Linked DNA regions of Homo sapiens: regions 2, 3, 4 and 5 are each linked to region 1. Evidence: promoter capture Hi-C in human tissues and cell types (Jung and others, 2019). All regions are on one chromosome and are shown on one strand. The core of a region is centred on a gene start or on the middle of the fragment in contact, and the rest is flanking DNA. Distances in the headings are between cores, read along the strand shown.

The links. Contacts are between HindIII fragments. The study calls those that stand out against the background at their distance.
Region 2: a contact is called between a fragment that was not itself captured here and the fragment with the promoter of HAO1 in region 1, in 2 of the 25 tissues and cell types used here (H1 embryonic stem cells and dorsolateral prefrontal cortex).
Region 3: a contact is called between a fragment that was not itself captured here and the fragment with the promoter of HAO1 in region 1, in 2 of the 25 tissues and cell types used here (mesendoderm cells and small bowel).
Region 4: a fragment that was not itself captured here is called in contact with the fragment with the promoter of HAO1 in region 1 in 4 of the 25 tissues and cell types used here (lymphoblastoid cells, mesendoderm cells, spleen and 1 more).
Region 5: a contact is called between a fragment that was not itself captured here and the fragment with the promoter of HAO1 in region 1, in 2 of the 25 tissues and cell types used here (H1 embryonic stem cells and stomach).

Annotation. Positions count from the first base shown.
Region 1 is chr20:7,939,120-7,941,819 of GRCh38, forward strand. It overlaps HAO1 (hydroxyacid oxidase 1), which reads right to left and starts at 1,339. Exons shown (of 8, transcript NM_017545.3): 1 at 1,167-1,339. The coding sequence starts at 1,303. The HindIII fragment of the contact is 11,188 bases long and covers 1-2,700 here.
Region 2 is chr20:8,456,520-8,459,219 of GRCh38, forward strand. The region is part of intron 3 of PLCB1 (phospholipase C beta 1); the gene reads left to right. LOC124900459 (a long non-coding RNA gene) reads left to right here. Exons shown (of 2, transcript XR_007067518.1): 2 at 1-2,700. Among named protein-coding and RNA genes, the nearest start is that of PLCB1-IT1, 210 kb to the left of the region's middle. The HindIII fragment of the contact is 3,506 bases long and covers 1-2,700 here.
Region 3 is chr20:8,609,854-8,612,553 of GRCh38, forward strand. All of the region lies in intron 3 of PLCB1 (phospholipase C beta 1), which reads left to right. Among named protein-coding and RNA genes, the nearest start is that of RNU105B, 220 kb to the right of the region's middle. The HindIII fragment of the contact is 3,614 bases long and covers 1-2,700 here.
Region 4 is chr20:8,665,697-8,668,396 of GRCh38, forward strand. All of the region lies in intron 9 of PLCB1 (phospholipase C beta 1), which reads left to right. Among named protein-coding and RNA genes, the nearest start is that of RNU105B, 160 kb to the right of the region's middle. The HindIII fragment of the contact is 3,580 bases long and covers 1-2,700 here.
Region 5 is chr20:8,584,679-8,587,378 of GRCh38, forward strand. The region is part of intron 3 of PLCB1 (phospholipase C beta 1); the gene reads left to right. Among named protein-coding and RNA genes, the nearest start is that of RNU105B, 250 kb to the right of the region's middle. The HindIII fragment of the contact is 7,424 bases long and covers 1-2,700 here.

The DNA of each region.
Region 1 (2,700 bases), core at 89-2,588:
AAATAGTAAATAATGATGCAGAATTTTAAGCCCCTCTACTCTCAGTCAACTTCCCTTCCCATGACTTCCCTGGCATTTGTTGAGCTCATTTGGGTTCCAGGCAAAACCTGAGACAAAGTCAAGGCTTGAAAGGGTTGGGGAGAGGCCGTATCCTTCACCCCATTGCCATTTTCAGTCTTCTACATGGATTTGTGGGTGAATCAGTGCTGCCTACCAGAGACCACCTTGGCCAGGATAATTTTATTTCTCCTAATTTAAATATGGAAAACTGATTTTGAGTGATTTTGTTGTAGACTAAAGAAGAAATCAGGGAGGAAGGCTAATTCTCTCCCCCTGCATATTTTCTGCCTTTTTGTCTTTATCACCATCAATGAGTACCCACAATACCGATTGCCTTTACTAACAGCCATAATGTTAGATGGATGAGACTGAGTGTAGTGTAGTGAAGGCACTCCTCTCTTGCTCCAGCAAATAAACCATTTTTGTAACTGCTATAAAAAAAAACCCTTTGAAATGATTTTATTTCTTGTTTTTATTACAAACAGAAAACATAAACCATGTCACCCACCATCTTGTGCTTTGAAATATGAAAGTCAAAGGAAAACTAATTTGGGAAGAGAGATGAAGTGCTTTGAAGGAGAGATGAAACAGCAAAGTTGAAAGATTAATGCTGCATAGACAAATTGAAATCTAAAGTGAAAGTTTAGACAACAGTAATCAAAATGAATGATAACACGAAAAGCCAGCAGGAAGAAAACATTTGAGCCAACAATCCAGTCTGGTTCATCCGGATAAGATGGTTATCTGGCATTTAATGCTGTTTCCTACACCATGAACATAAGCATTTACTGTCATACTAAGAAAAAGAAAAGTCATCCGAATTTATCGCTATTTTTACATGTAGTTAAATTAATTGTTGTCATATTTCCAAGTGAAGTAACATAGGTTTGGCTTTTGCAGTCAGTTCCTCAAGATTCACAGGCTTGGAATATTTTTTAACAATTTAAAGGCCCAAGATTTCTTACAGCCCCAAGAACTTTTCCCTCTCTACTAAGCACAAATCTGAACAAATAATTACACACCACCAACGTAAAACTAGGAGATCTTATTTTGGTACGGTCTTTGTGTAATTTTAAAACATGATTTTAAAAAATAAATTTTCTTACCTGGAAAATGCTGCAATATTATCAGCCAAAGTTTCTTCATCATTTGCCCCAGACCTGTAATAGTCATATATAGACTTTGGAAGTACTGATTTAGCATGTTGTTCATAATCATTGATACAAATTAGCCGGGGGAGCATTTTCACAGGTTATTGCTATCCCAGATGGAGTTCGTTGTTTTTTTTTTTTTAATGTATTGCTTTCTACATCCTCACTGTTCTGTTATTTGTCAATTATTAATAGACTTTTGCCAAAGTTCAGATTTAGTTCTCTGTTGCTTACATCAAGTGAGCAAACATTATATGCTTAGCCTTTGAAATTTCATTTGTAGGCTATCTGCCAAAGAACACCGAAGTCACTATCTGCCAAAGAACACCAAAGTTGAGGTTGGGAAGGCAGCAGAAGGTGATTAGGTGTCTATCACATTAAAAAGGGGAAAGGAATAAGTAAAAAATTAAAGACTTAGAGGAATACCTGTATGAAACCACTCTTGGTTCAGTTTTGCCTAAGGCTGCTTATTGCACATGGTCTGTGCCTGTGCTCTTTGCTTGATACCCAGAATAGGCTGCCCACTCATTTTCTTTCCACATTTGGATCATGCACAAATCATGTAAACAAGAGCTTATGAACTGAACGGGGCATCCATGAAATATGGGGCATCCGTGAAATTCAGGGCTTCTGCACAATATAAAATTTAGCTGATTACAAACATAGACATTTGGCTTTAACATGGAACATTAAGGCCAAATTGACAGCTAATTGTTTTATTCATTCTGTATATTTGAGGTTTACAACATGATATTATGAGATACATATACACAGAAAAATGGTTACAGTAGGGAGGCCAATATAATATATGTATCATCTCACCCGTAATTACTTTTTTGTGTGTATGACAAGAACAGCTAAAATCAACTTATTTAACAAAAATTCCTAATATGATACAATTTTATTAACTTTAGTCCTCATTTTGCACGTTTGCTCTCTAGACCAGGGGTCCCAAACTCCCCAGCATGGACTGGTACTGGTCCGTGGCCTGTTAGGAACCAAGCTGCACAGCAGGAGGTGAGCAGCCGGTGAGCAAGCTTTACAGACTGAGCTCCGCCTCCTATTGTGAACTGCACATGCGAGGGATCTAGGTTGCGCCACTCCTTATGAGAATCTAATGCCTGATGATCTGAGGTGGAACAGTTTCATTCCAAAACCATCCACCTACCCCCACTGCCCATGGAAAAATTGTATTCCACAAAACTTGTCCCTGGTGCCGAAAAGGTTAGGGACCCTGTTGTAGATTTATGTATCCTACGTGTCTACTATTTTGTATCCTTTGACCTATATCACCCCTTTTCCTCTTCCCTGCTTCCCACTAGTGGTATTCACTGTTTCATTCTCTAGCTCTGTGCATTTGAAGTCTTTTTTAAAACAAAATCCCACCTATAAGTGAAATAATGCAATAATTTCCCTTTTGTGCCTGGCTTATTTCACTTAGCATAATGTTCTCTGGGTTCTACTGCAAATGACAGGATTCCCTTCTCTT
Region 2 (2,700 bases), core at 99-2,598, 520 kb after region 1:
GTATTTCCTGCTTTTAATAAACACAAGTTTTATGAGAAAAATAAATAAATTTCAATATAAAATTAAGATGTACAGAATATAGATTTAGCACATATAAAAAAGGAAACAAAAATCATTTTACCTTCACTTTAGCCTGGGCTGATTTAACAAAACACCATAAACTGGGTAGATTTTTAACATCAGAAATTAATTTCTCATAGTTCTAGAGGCTGAGAAGTCCAAGATCAAGGTGCTGGCAGATTTGGTGTCTGGTGAGAGCCCACTACCTCACAGATAGCCTTCTTCTCACTGTAACTCACATGGGAGAAGTGGCCAGAGAGCTCCCTGGGACCTCTTTTATAAGGGCACTAATGCCATTCAGGAGGGAGGGCATCACCCTCAGGACCTCATGACTTCCCCAAGGCTCCATGTCTGAACATCATCACCTTGGGGGTTAGGATTTCAACATATGAATTTTGGATTGGGACATAAAGAGTCTACTGCAAATTTCTTCATGTCAGTCACATTTTAACCAAAATCATCTTACATGGACTTCTCTAGAGGTAGTTATATTTTTTAACCAACTGCACTTTTATATGATAACATATTTTTATATGCCACCTGCAAAAGGGCTACCTAATGAGGCCACCTATTTTTTGTAAGTGTAAGAGACTCAGCTGGAAGCAAGTTCAAGTGTGAAGCACTGTCCCCTCTCTACCTGGGACATGGTGCATACAAATGGGAGTAACATGAGCTTTGCAGGGGTCATCTTGGCCTCCTGTCCCACCTCCACCACTTACCAGTCATCATTCATTATTGTTATTCCATGAACAATGCCACCCACAAACCCAGAGTGACTCTCAGTTCATTGCTTGTCTTCACCCAGCGTAATGCCAGTTGTGTGTCCTTAACATCTTTCTCATCTCCTTATTTTGTCCTCACTTCTCTCCCCACTGCCAATGTTTAGGCCTGCAGCAACGATTTCCTAAATTGCCCACCTTCCATCCAGCTTCCATCACACTGCTAGAGTAACACTTCAGAAAATCCAAGTTCAATCCTATTAAAATCTTATTTTAATCAGTCGTCTATTTAATTATTTTTATTATTGCCCATTACTAGGATAGAGAATTCCAAGTTTGTCAAGTAATGAACTGCATGATATTCCTGGTCTCTTTATTCAAAGTCATCTCCTACTTATACCCCTAATGTGTGCGCGCACACACACACACACACACACACACACACACACGTACACACCATCTTGCCTTCCAGGCACCCTCAGCCACCTTTACTACTCCTGGCATGCTGTCTCCTGCACAAGTCTCATTGCCTTTACCCTCTGTGGAATTTCCCTCTCTGTGCTCTTACCAGATCACTTTATAAAGTTATTTTTAAATATGCTTGTGAAAATAAATGAAGATCACATGAACAAGAACAGAGGTGATTTATTTAGAGTTTGCAAGAGAATCAACCACTATCAGTTGCATTTGGCACAGACTTAAAGGAACACAGAAAGATAGGAAACCTTTAGAGTGAAACAAAGAGCAGGTTCCAGGTACGCTGTGGCATGAGGAAGCTGGAGTTGAGCTAACTAGATGTGAACATCTGATGTGGTTGGTTTGGGAAGCAGATCTTGCTTCCTCCGGTTGATTCTGAGTTGAAAGGAGGGAGCCAAGAATAGGGAAGCTGGCAGTCATTGACTGTATCGTGACTGTTGGGGCCAGTTGCTGTAGAGGTTGTGGTTTGGCTTCCAGCTGGTTGCTGCAGAGGTGGTGCTCAGAATTCTGTTGTCATATATTGTCTGGCCATTGTCCGTTTGTATATTTCATCTCTCATGATCAATCAATATTTTTTGAATGAGTACATGAATATTTCATCTCAGTAAGTGATCATTCCCTCCTCATCCATCTTAATCATAAAATTCTAATGTCCTAGGTTCTTTATCTTTCAACAAATTATGTTTCCCTTTCTTAATGGGTAGAAAAAGGAAGCTTCCCCATAGGCCTAAATGTGCTGATTTCAAGAGAAAGCATACTTCTTTGCAACAAGAAATTGCCCAGGCCTTCACTCTTAACCACTATGCTACATCAACGTCCTTAGATGAAACAGAGACTTGGGGGCATATATTTCCCAATTTTTCAAAATCCATTTTTATCGCATATTCAATTTGGCCTGCTTACCTTATTTACATTACCTGTCTGGGATGAAAGACATTTGAGGTTGTCATTCTGGACTCTTAAGTAAGTTCTTCCTTTAAAGTAAAGAAGCTGACCTTCCAAGCTAATTTATCCCACTTAACAAGAGTAATAATAACACACCACCCACTCCAGAAAGGAAATCATGCAGATGAATGAAATAATGTTTGTACAGAGCTTGACACTCCATAAAATACTCTAATAACATGGTGTCTACACTTTGAAATGTTCAAATCCTATTTCAATAGAATTAAAAGCCATGAAGAATAAAATGTGAATTGCTTGTCAGACTTTTACATAGAGGTGCAGGGTGATACTGATGCCATTAGACAATTTAAAAGCTGGGTTTTAGCAAAGTTTCTGAGGAATCTGATTGGTTTGTGGGGGAGAAAGTGATGGTGGTACTTATTCATATCCATTTTTGTAGAAAAACAATAGGTTATAACATGAACCGAGAAACACTTACGCAGCTAAATTTACAGAAATCTGTCTACTCATCTCCGAGGAAAAGTTTTGGCTAAGCAAG
Region 3 (2,700 bases), core at 63-2,562, 670 kb after region 1:
TATACACATCACAAAGGGTGCACAGGTACTTTAGGGTGAATATCTGTATTTGCACACCAATAAATTAACCCTTCTAATGTAAACAATTCAGTGGTTTTTAGTATATTTAGTATATTCATAGATGTAAAATGAGCATCAGTATATAATTTTGGAATGTTTTCATCACTCCAAAAAGAAACCCCCTACCCATTAATAAGCATTCTTCCCTCCTTCCTCTTCCCAGACCCTGGTAACCATTTACCTTTCTGTCTCTATGTGTTTAACTATTCTAGAAATTTCATATAAATGGAATCATATAAAATTATGTTGGTGCAAAAGTAATTGATGTTTTTGCTTGTGAAAGTAATGGCCAAAACTGCAATCACTTTTGCACCAACCTAATACCTGGTATGTAGTGACTGGCTTCTTTCACTTAGCATAATGTTTTCAAGGTTAATCCATGTTGTAGCATATAACAGTACTTCATTGCTGTTAATTGTCAAATATTACTCAATTGCATGTATATACCATATTTGATTTTCCATTCATCAGTTGATAGACATTTGGATTGTTTTTATTTTTTGGCTATTATGAAAAATGCTGCTATGAACTTTCAGGTATAAGCTTTTGTGTGGACATGTTTTCATTTCTCGTAGGTATATACCTAAGAATGTAATTGCTGGGTCATATGATGGCTGTGTTTAACATCTTAAGGAGTTGCAAACTGTTTTCCAAATTGGCTATGACATTTTACCTTCCCACCAGCAGTTTATTTGATAAATTCCTTTCAGATAGAATTCATAAATATTTTCTCCCATTCTCTTTGTTGTCTTTTTACCTTCTTGATAGTGTCCTTTGTAGCACGAAGTTTTTGTTTTTTATAAAGTTCAATTTATCTATATTTTATTTTGTTACTTGTCCTCTTGGTTATGTAAGAAACCATTGCCTAACCCAAGATCTCAATGACTTATACCTAGGTTTTCTTCTAAGATCTTTAGAGTTTTAGCTCTTACATTTAGGTCTATGATAAATTTCAAGTTGATTTTTGCATATAGTGTGAGGTAAGGGTCCAAGCTCATTATGATAATGATGAGAAGTTTTATTTTAAATAAACATATTTTAATGTATGAAATTTGCTAATTTAAAGAAAAATCTTAAATAAATGGTAAACTATAAATATCTAAGAAATGTATCTCTTTTCAGGTTTTCTAGGAAAATCAACCTAGGATTTATATTAGTAAGGAAATTTATACTTAAAATTTTACTTTTATTTATTTTACTTTTTATTTATAGAAGGTAAGGATGAAATGATGAAGTGGGATAGAGGTTGACACCTATATATGTGCCAAGCTCTTTGTGAATGTAAAATTCTATTTTAAGGAAAAAAATATTGTGTTTTGAAGGCTAAGAAAACATGTATACAAGAAACTAAAATGGTGCCATTGGGCACCATCTTCTTTAATTCTTAGTTTTAAAATTCAGGGAAATACTTTGGTTTTGATAAGCTTAAGCCTAAGTGTTGAAAAATTCTTAAGTAAGGTTTAAAATTAAAACGACATCAGTAATTGTTAATAAAGGGATCACCAAAAAAGGCTTCACTATAGTCAGTTCATTCACATCAAGTTACCTAGTCAGTCTGGGTTGATTACCTTAAAATGTAAGAAGCCTGTATTATGACTTTATTTTAATAATAAAAAGGTCCTTTCAGTTCTAAAAACATGGCTATATCATGTTTTTTACTTCTTGAGCCTATAAAAACAATTTCTTTATAAGGACTAGGATAACCAGGAGGCCTAGTAATATCAACTAAAAAACATTTTATTGATGAAATAGTTTACAGAGTTTTATTGACCGTGCAGGAAACATTCAGGGACTCTTCAATCAATTCTCTTAGTATTTCCAGTGGTAGTTTGAGAACATTCCCTTGGCACTGTTTCTATATCTGCAAACTTTTAAGAGACGTATTAGCTGGGCATGGTGGTTCATGCCTGCAGTCCTAGCTACTCGGGAGGCTGAGGCAGGAAGATTGCTTGAGCCCGGGGGATAGAGTCTACAGTGAGCTGTGATGGTGCCACTGTACTCCAGCTTGGATGATGGAGGGAGATTCTGTCTCTAAAAGGATAAATAAAACAAACTAGAGATATATTCACCTCAAGTTTTCTCTGTTGAAAAACCAACTAGCTTTTAAGGAAGTTTGTAACTTCCTTAAAAACAGTTAGTTGGCCTTTCTCTGTGCTCCAAAAGCATTTATCCCTTTGTCCTAAAAGGATCTACGTATTTTCCTCTTCTACCAGATCATTAGAAGCTTGAGGGCAAAGACTGTGCCACATTCATAAACATAACCCTGGTATAGAAAATGGCAATAAAGGCATAAAGTTTGTTGAATGAATAAAAAACACAAATGAAAAAGTATGTTTATGGTATTGGTAGAGCTCCTGGAACATTCATTTGCATATAGGTGAATCAATTATTGTAGGAGAGGTCGCTTCAGTAAATGTTCAGAGTTTTCCTGGGATTCTATGACATAAAGATCCACAAGTCAGCTTTGAAGAAGGCAGCTCTCAAGCCCTCATCTTTGCCGTCCATTGGATGGAGGAAGGGTGGCATAGCAACAATGGTTGTTTCACTGCTTAACCCAACTCCCTGTAGTAAAATTCCAGAGGTTTCACCAGGAAGTCCAACTACACTCTGGTTTACATATTCCATAGGGATTAAATGTCC
Region 4 (2,700 bases), core at 96-2,595, 730 kb after region 1:
AATTTTTTGAATCATATTTTTCCAGCACCATTTCGCTTTACTAGGTAGAAGTTATAAAAACTAATGATGGTGATGATTATAATCTCTATTCTCCATCCTTGAAAGATCAAACATGCCCTAATTAAAGAAATAGGCTGGCATAGTGTCATGATGAAGCCAGTAAACCTCAGGCAAGAGACTTGACTTGTGTGAGCTTCAGGTTCTTCATCTGTAAAATGGGATGAGACCAGCAATGTAGCAGACACCTGTGCTATTCCCATGTCCCTTGGCAATCATGGTTCCAACCCAGCCACCTACACACTTGGCAACTCTTCAGGGCCTTCTATCAGTCCATCCACAGCCAGGCTACAATTCCCAGGGACTGCATGCCTCAGGAGTAGTTGAAGAATAAATACCTTATCTTCCATGCCCCTTGGGTTGCAAAGTTCTGATGTGTGTTCTCTGCTTTCTCCCAGAGTTCCTCGGTGAGACTGAGCCCTAACTGCCCACAGCTGTAACCTGCCTGATACCCTTCTCCTTCTTAGCTGCCTTTCCTTCTTGTCTCACTTCTCTTCTCTACTGTTGTTTCATAGGGTCAACTCCCAAAAAAGGTGCTTGCACTCAAATCCTTGTCTCAGATCCTGTTTTTGGAAGAACCCAAACTAAGACAAGCACTTTTCTATAAATGGCCTTAAGGGAATCAAAAGTGAAAGATGGGTAAGGTCAGAGTTGCTGAGCATTGAGAGAAAAAAAAATGGAAAGAGGCTGTGCCTCATCATTCCTGCCAACCTATCACGTTATTGTCTTCGTTGTTTCCAATCACGAAGCCCTGGCCAGTGGCCTCCAATCATAGATTTCCAGTCTACAAAGGACTTAGCCATTTAGCTTAGTCAAACTGTCAGTTTATTAGAAGAGGCAGTTTGCAGAAATGGCAATGTTGGGACCAAGACCATGTTTTCTTTGTCCCGCTACTCCAGACATCCACCTAGGCACTCCAACAGGACTTGCTTAGAAAAAAGTTGCAACACAGACCATTTAGAAGTTAGTGATCGATGTCTATAGCAGTGGTTTCCAAGCTGGTCCTAGACATAGCACCCTTTGTTTGTTTCTTCTAACAAAGTCTCGTGAGAAAGGCCAATGTGTAGGGAAAAGCTTTAAAGGTGCTGTCTTGGTGGAATAGAGGGGAGCCTGGAGTACAGGTGATGGTGGCTGTTGCCCTATCACTCTTTCTCCTCCTGACCTACCCCATTCTCTGCAGGGATGTCTGCCCAAACCCAGGGATATTCAGGATACTCAGTTTAAAAACCACTCCTCTGAAGGAAATACTGACTAGTTTAAAGATCTGCCTCACAATTAAGGTGGCATCCATTTAAGTCATTTTATATAGATTACCTACAAAGTAGTTGAGGAAACAGAACCGACGTGAATCAACAAAGTCAACACAAATAAGATCAATTTTCTCCCAAAAGACAAAAACAGAGGAAAACTATATGATGTAGCCAATGCTTTCATGCCTTAATTAAGTTACTACACTGAAAAAGCTGCTGAAAAGCTACTCTAGGATTTTATTGATCGAAATCTCATTTAAATTCCTCCTATTGACTCTCTAACCTCTGCGGAAGGTTACAGAAAAATGGCATTGTCGTCCCTGAGTGCATTCCAAGTTCTTCTTAACTTCATGTTTGGTATGTTCATAGACTTCTCTGAAATATTTCAGATTGCCTAAGAATGAAAAAAAAATTTTTCAAGATCGTCATTGTGGATCTATTGTTCATTGGTTGACTTGGCAACTCCCTTTGCTTTCCTTTCCGTTATTACATTTCCTTTATTCCCAGAAGGCAGGGCCTGGGCCTGAGGAAAGGCAAAGGCCTGGCCTAGGAATTCTGTTTCTTTTCTCCTTTATTTCAGTGACCTCAGTGTCTGCTCAGGCCCACAGCTCTGGCCAGAAAGTCACAGCCCTGTCTACTCACAGCTGAAATGTCCTTTGTTCAGAAAATAACCAGACAGGAAAAATATAAACAGTAAAAGGCAAAATCAAATGCCAGTCCACAGGATAGATAAGTGAGCTTGGTAGCCTCATCAACCCCATAGTCTGCTGAGTCTTGTTAAAACTTCTTTCCTTCATCACACCTTTCAGAGGTGCCTTGCCATTTCATGGGAGAGCTATTGGGACAGAGCAGAGAATGGCTTCTTTCCCCCTAGATGTGACCTCCCAGCAGAACACAGCATTGACAATTGTTGGCTAGTATAGCTTTCCCCTTGTCAGCAGGGTCTAGGAGCAGGTTGCAGTGCGTGTGGGGTGGGGTGGAGGGGACTCTGGCTCAGTCAAAACTGCCTGGCAGGTTGTACTGTGTTGGGAGGGAGAGAGGCCACAGGCGTTTGGCTCCTAACTTCGGCATTATCCAGGGTCTTGTCAATAGTCAATGTGATACAACAGATAAGTGGGAGGGAAATAGGTCGAATGCAGAAAAAAAAAAAGCAAACCACAGGGAAACCAGATTAAGTGAGGGATGGACCTTCCACCCTAACCCTTAATAGAAAAGCTGAAAAATGTACCATAGTAGGGAATCCTGCCAGGAAGTGGACAGTGACCAAGGATTTCAAAAATCTCTTATGGAGATTCTGGAAGGTCTGTCTTAACTCTGAATCACTACAGTCTCTAGGATGCCAGCTGTGACAGCAAAGATTATCTCCAAGCTAGGGATAGCATTATTTTAACAG
Region 5 (2,700 bases), core at 162-2,661, 650 kb after region 1:
ATTCTTATTTCAAGATTCTCTTTTTTTTTTGAGACAGAGTCTCGCTCCGTCACCCAGGCTGGAGTGCAATGGCACGATCTCGGCTCACTGCAATCTCTGCCTCCCAGGTTTAAGCGATTCTCCTGCCTCAGCCTCCTTAGTAGCTGGGACTATAGGCGCCCGCCACCACACCTGACTAATTTTTGTATTTTTAATAGAGATGATGTTTCACCATGTTGGTCAGGCTGGTCTTGATCTCCTGACCTTGTGATCCCCCTGCCTCAGCCTCCAAAAGTGCTGGGATCACAGGGGTGAGCCACCACGCCTGGCCCTCAAGATTCTCTTTAGCCCAACATGATCCCAAGAAATCATTAGTCTTTTACTGCTTACCCTCAGAAGGGATCACCCTTGCACTGCCCTCATTGGGTGCTCTTGCCCATGCCATGGCCAGGGTCTCATTGTGATCCTTGGAGCTTCGGCTTACTTTTGGGGGGCAAAATGCTTCCAAGACTCTCAGTATTATAGCTCTAGGTCCATTTCTAGATGCATGTCCTAGGTGCTGAACTAGGTCTTTTCAGACATTCCTTACCTGCCAGAGGTAAGACTTTCTCTGTGCATGTCCTGGAGCCAGAGCCACCATGCTGTCCCATAAGCTGCGGTCTGATGGCAGAGGCAGACTCCATTGCCAAGACTCCAGTTCACTGACCCTTAATTGTGCACAGCTCAGAAGAGGTCACAGTTTGGCTCAGACTTCTTGAATAGCTTCTAGAAGAATTGTTTGAAATGAGAAGATGTTGGAAAGAACTAGAAACTCTTCTTTCATGATCTACTCCACACACATTTCACTCCAATAATACTAAACAGCTTCCAGTTCCTGGTCTACCATATCGGTTCATGTCTCCCTGTCTTTGATCACGTTATTAACTCTTTTTAGAATATATCACGTTTTTACCCCTCTTGACGTGATGCTTTTTCTTTTTCCAAGTCTGAGCTGAGATGTCATATTCTAGAACCACAAGTTCAGCTAAGTCCCTCTTCTCTAGGGCCTCATGCTAATGAGCTTCTTTAGCATTGCTTCCACTGTCTCCTAAATGTGAGGTGGTCTCTGCTCCTTGCCAGCTCCAAGTGACCAAATAGTATCTTTTTATAAACTCAAATGTAGACACTATCTCCATGAAATCTTTTCACCTCTTCTCCAATGAAGCGCTTTGCTTCTTCTCTATGTATATTTGACACTTCATTAATACCCCTCAGTGGTTTTTCATATTTTTATTTTTCCCGTTAGATTGTAAAACCTCCTTCAGAAGAGTTTTGTTTGACATTGAATTCCAATCTACTCCAGTGCCCAGCTCATTACCCCAGATTCAATAAATGCTCGCTGAATGAATGCATGCAGAGCTGAGTGGATAAGCAAGCCTCCTTGATTAATCACATCAATTAAACTGGGTCAAAGATGTTTTGTTATATTGGTTCCATTATCTGACTTTCGGAAAAGCAATGTGACCTACAGAGTTGACATGCCCTTGATATGGCAAAAGATGAGTTTCATCCTCAAATATCCCATTAGCATTTTATTTTCCCTGCTTAGAGTATATGGTTGACTTATTCCTGTCACAGACCTAAGTAACTACTAATATTGAGATTTTCTCTCTAATTCTTCTGACACTTCTTCTTTTTCTTTTTTATTTATTTATTATGGTTTTTTTTTTTGCCTAAAAAGCGTCATCTTTCTGGATCACGTCACCGACTCTAGCCTTTGGCTTTCTATCCAGGGACATTTTTCACAAAGAAACAAAACTGTTTAGTGATGGTAGCAGAGTTATCAACATGGTAAGTAGGGAAAAACGTATTTGCATTTAAAAGCAAATCCTGGACCTGTGGCAGAGCCAGGCTTGATAATTACGTCCCTTACATTGGCCGGCCTGATAAAGCTTGGATATTCACAGTGACAAGTAGCAACCCGCTATAGACCTTAGTGGTCACTCACAAATAGGAAAAAAATCTTGGAATGTTAAATTCGCAGATTAGAGAATCCCCTTTTCACATTTTCTGCAAAATCCATTTTGATGCAAATTAGATTACAGAAAATTTAAGATTCTCATAAATGTACATCATATTTCTGTTAGTGACGTTTTACCCTTGCCCCTCCACACCTTTGTGTTTAGGCTCACACATTTCAATTTCAAAACCCAGAACCATGGTATTAATTCTAAAATCTGAGCTACTAAAGCTGGGGCCCTCAAGTAAGTACACCATGGAATCTGCGAGATAGAAATTCCTAGCCTCGCATTTTAGTTTAAAAAGTTTTAGTTTGAAAGTATGGGGGATGAGCTGGTGGCATAAGCTGTATAACAATGATATTTTTATTAAATTTGAAGGCCTAAAAATATCCTGTAGTAGGGGAAAGTACTTTTACCCACCATAAATGTTATTAGGTTTGTGTAATTGTGCCAAAATTGTAAGGGCAAAAATGATCTGCTTTGCTATTGTCTAAAACTAACGCCAGCACTATCAATTAAAAAATATATATATATATATGATCTCAAAAAGGGAGATGGTGTAGAATCTACTTAGCTTTGAGCAGTACCAACAGAGAATTCTCCTAGGACTCATACTAAATGAGTTGGGTTATTATTAATTAGTAGGAGTTAAAACAATTATCAGATCATGTACAGCACTGTTCTTAATGCAGCCTGCCTAGGGACCCTGTTAGGAGGGTGT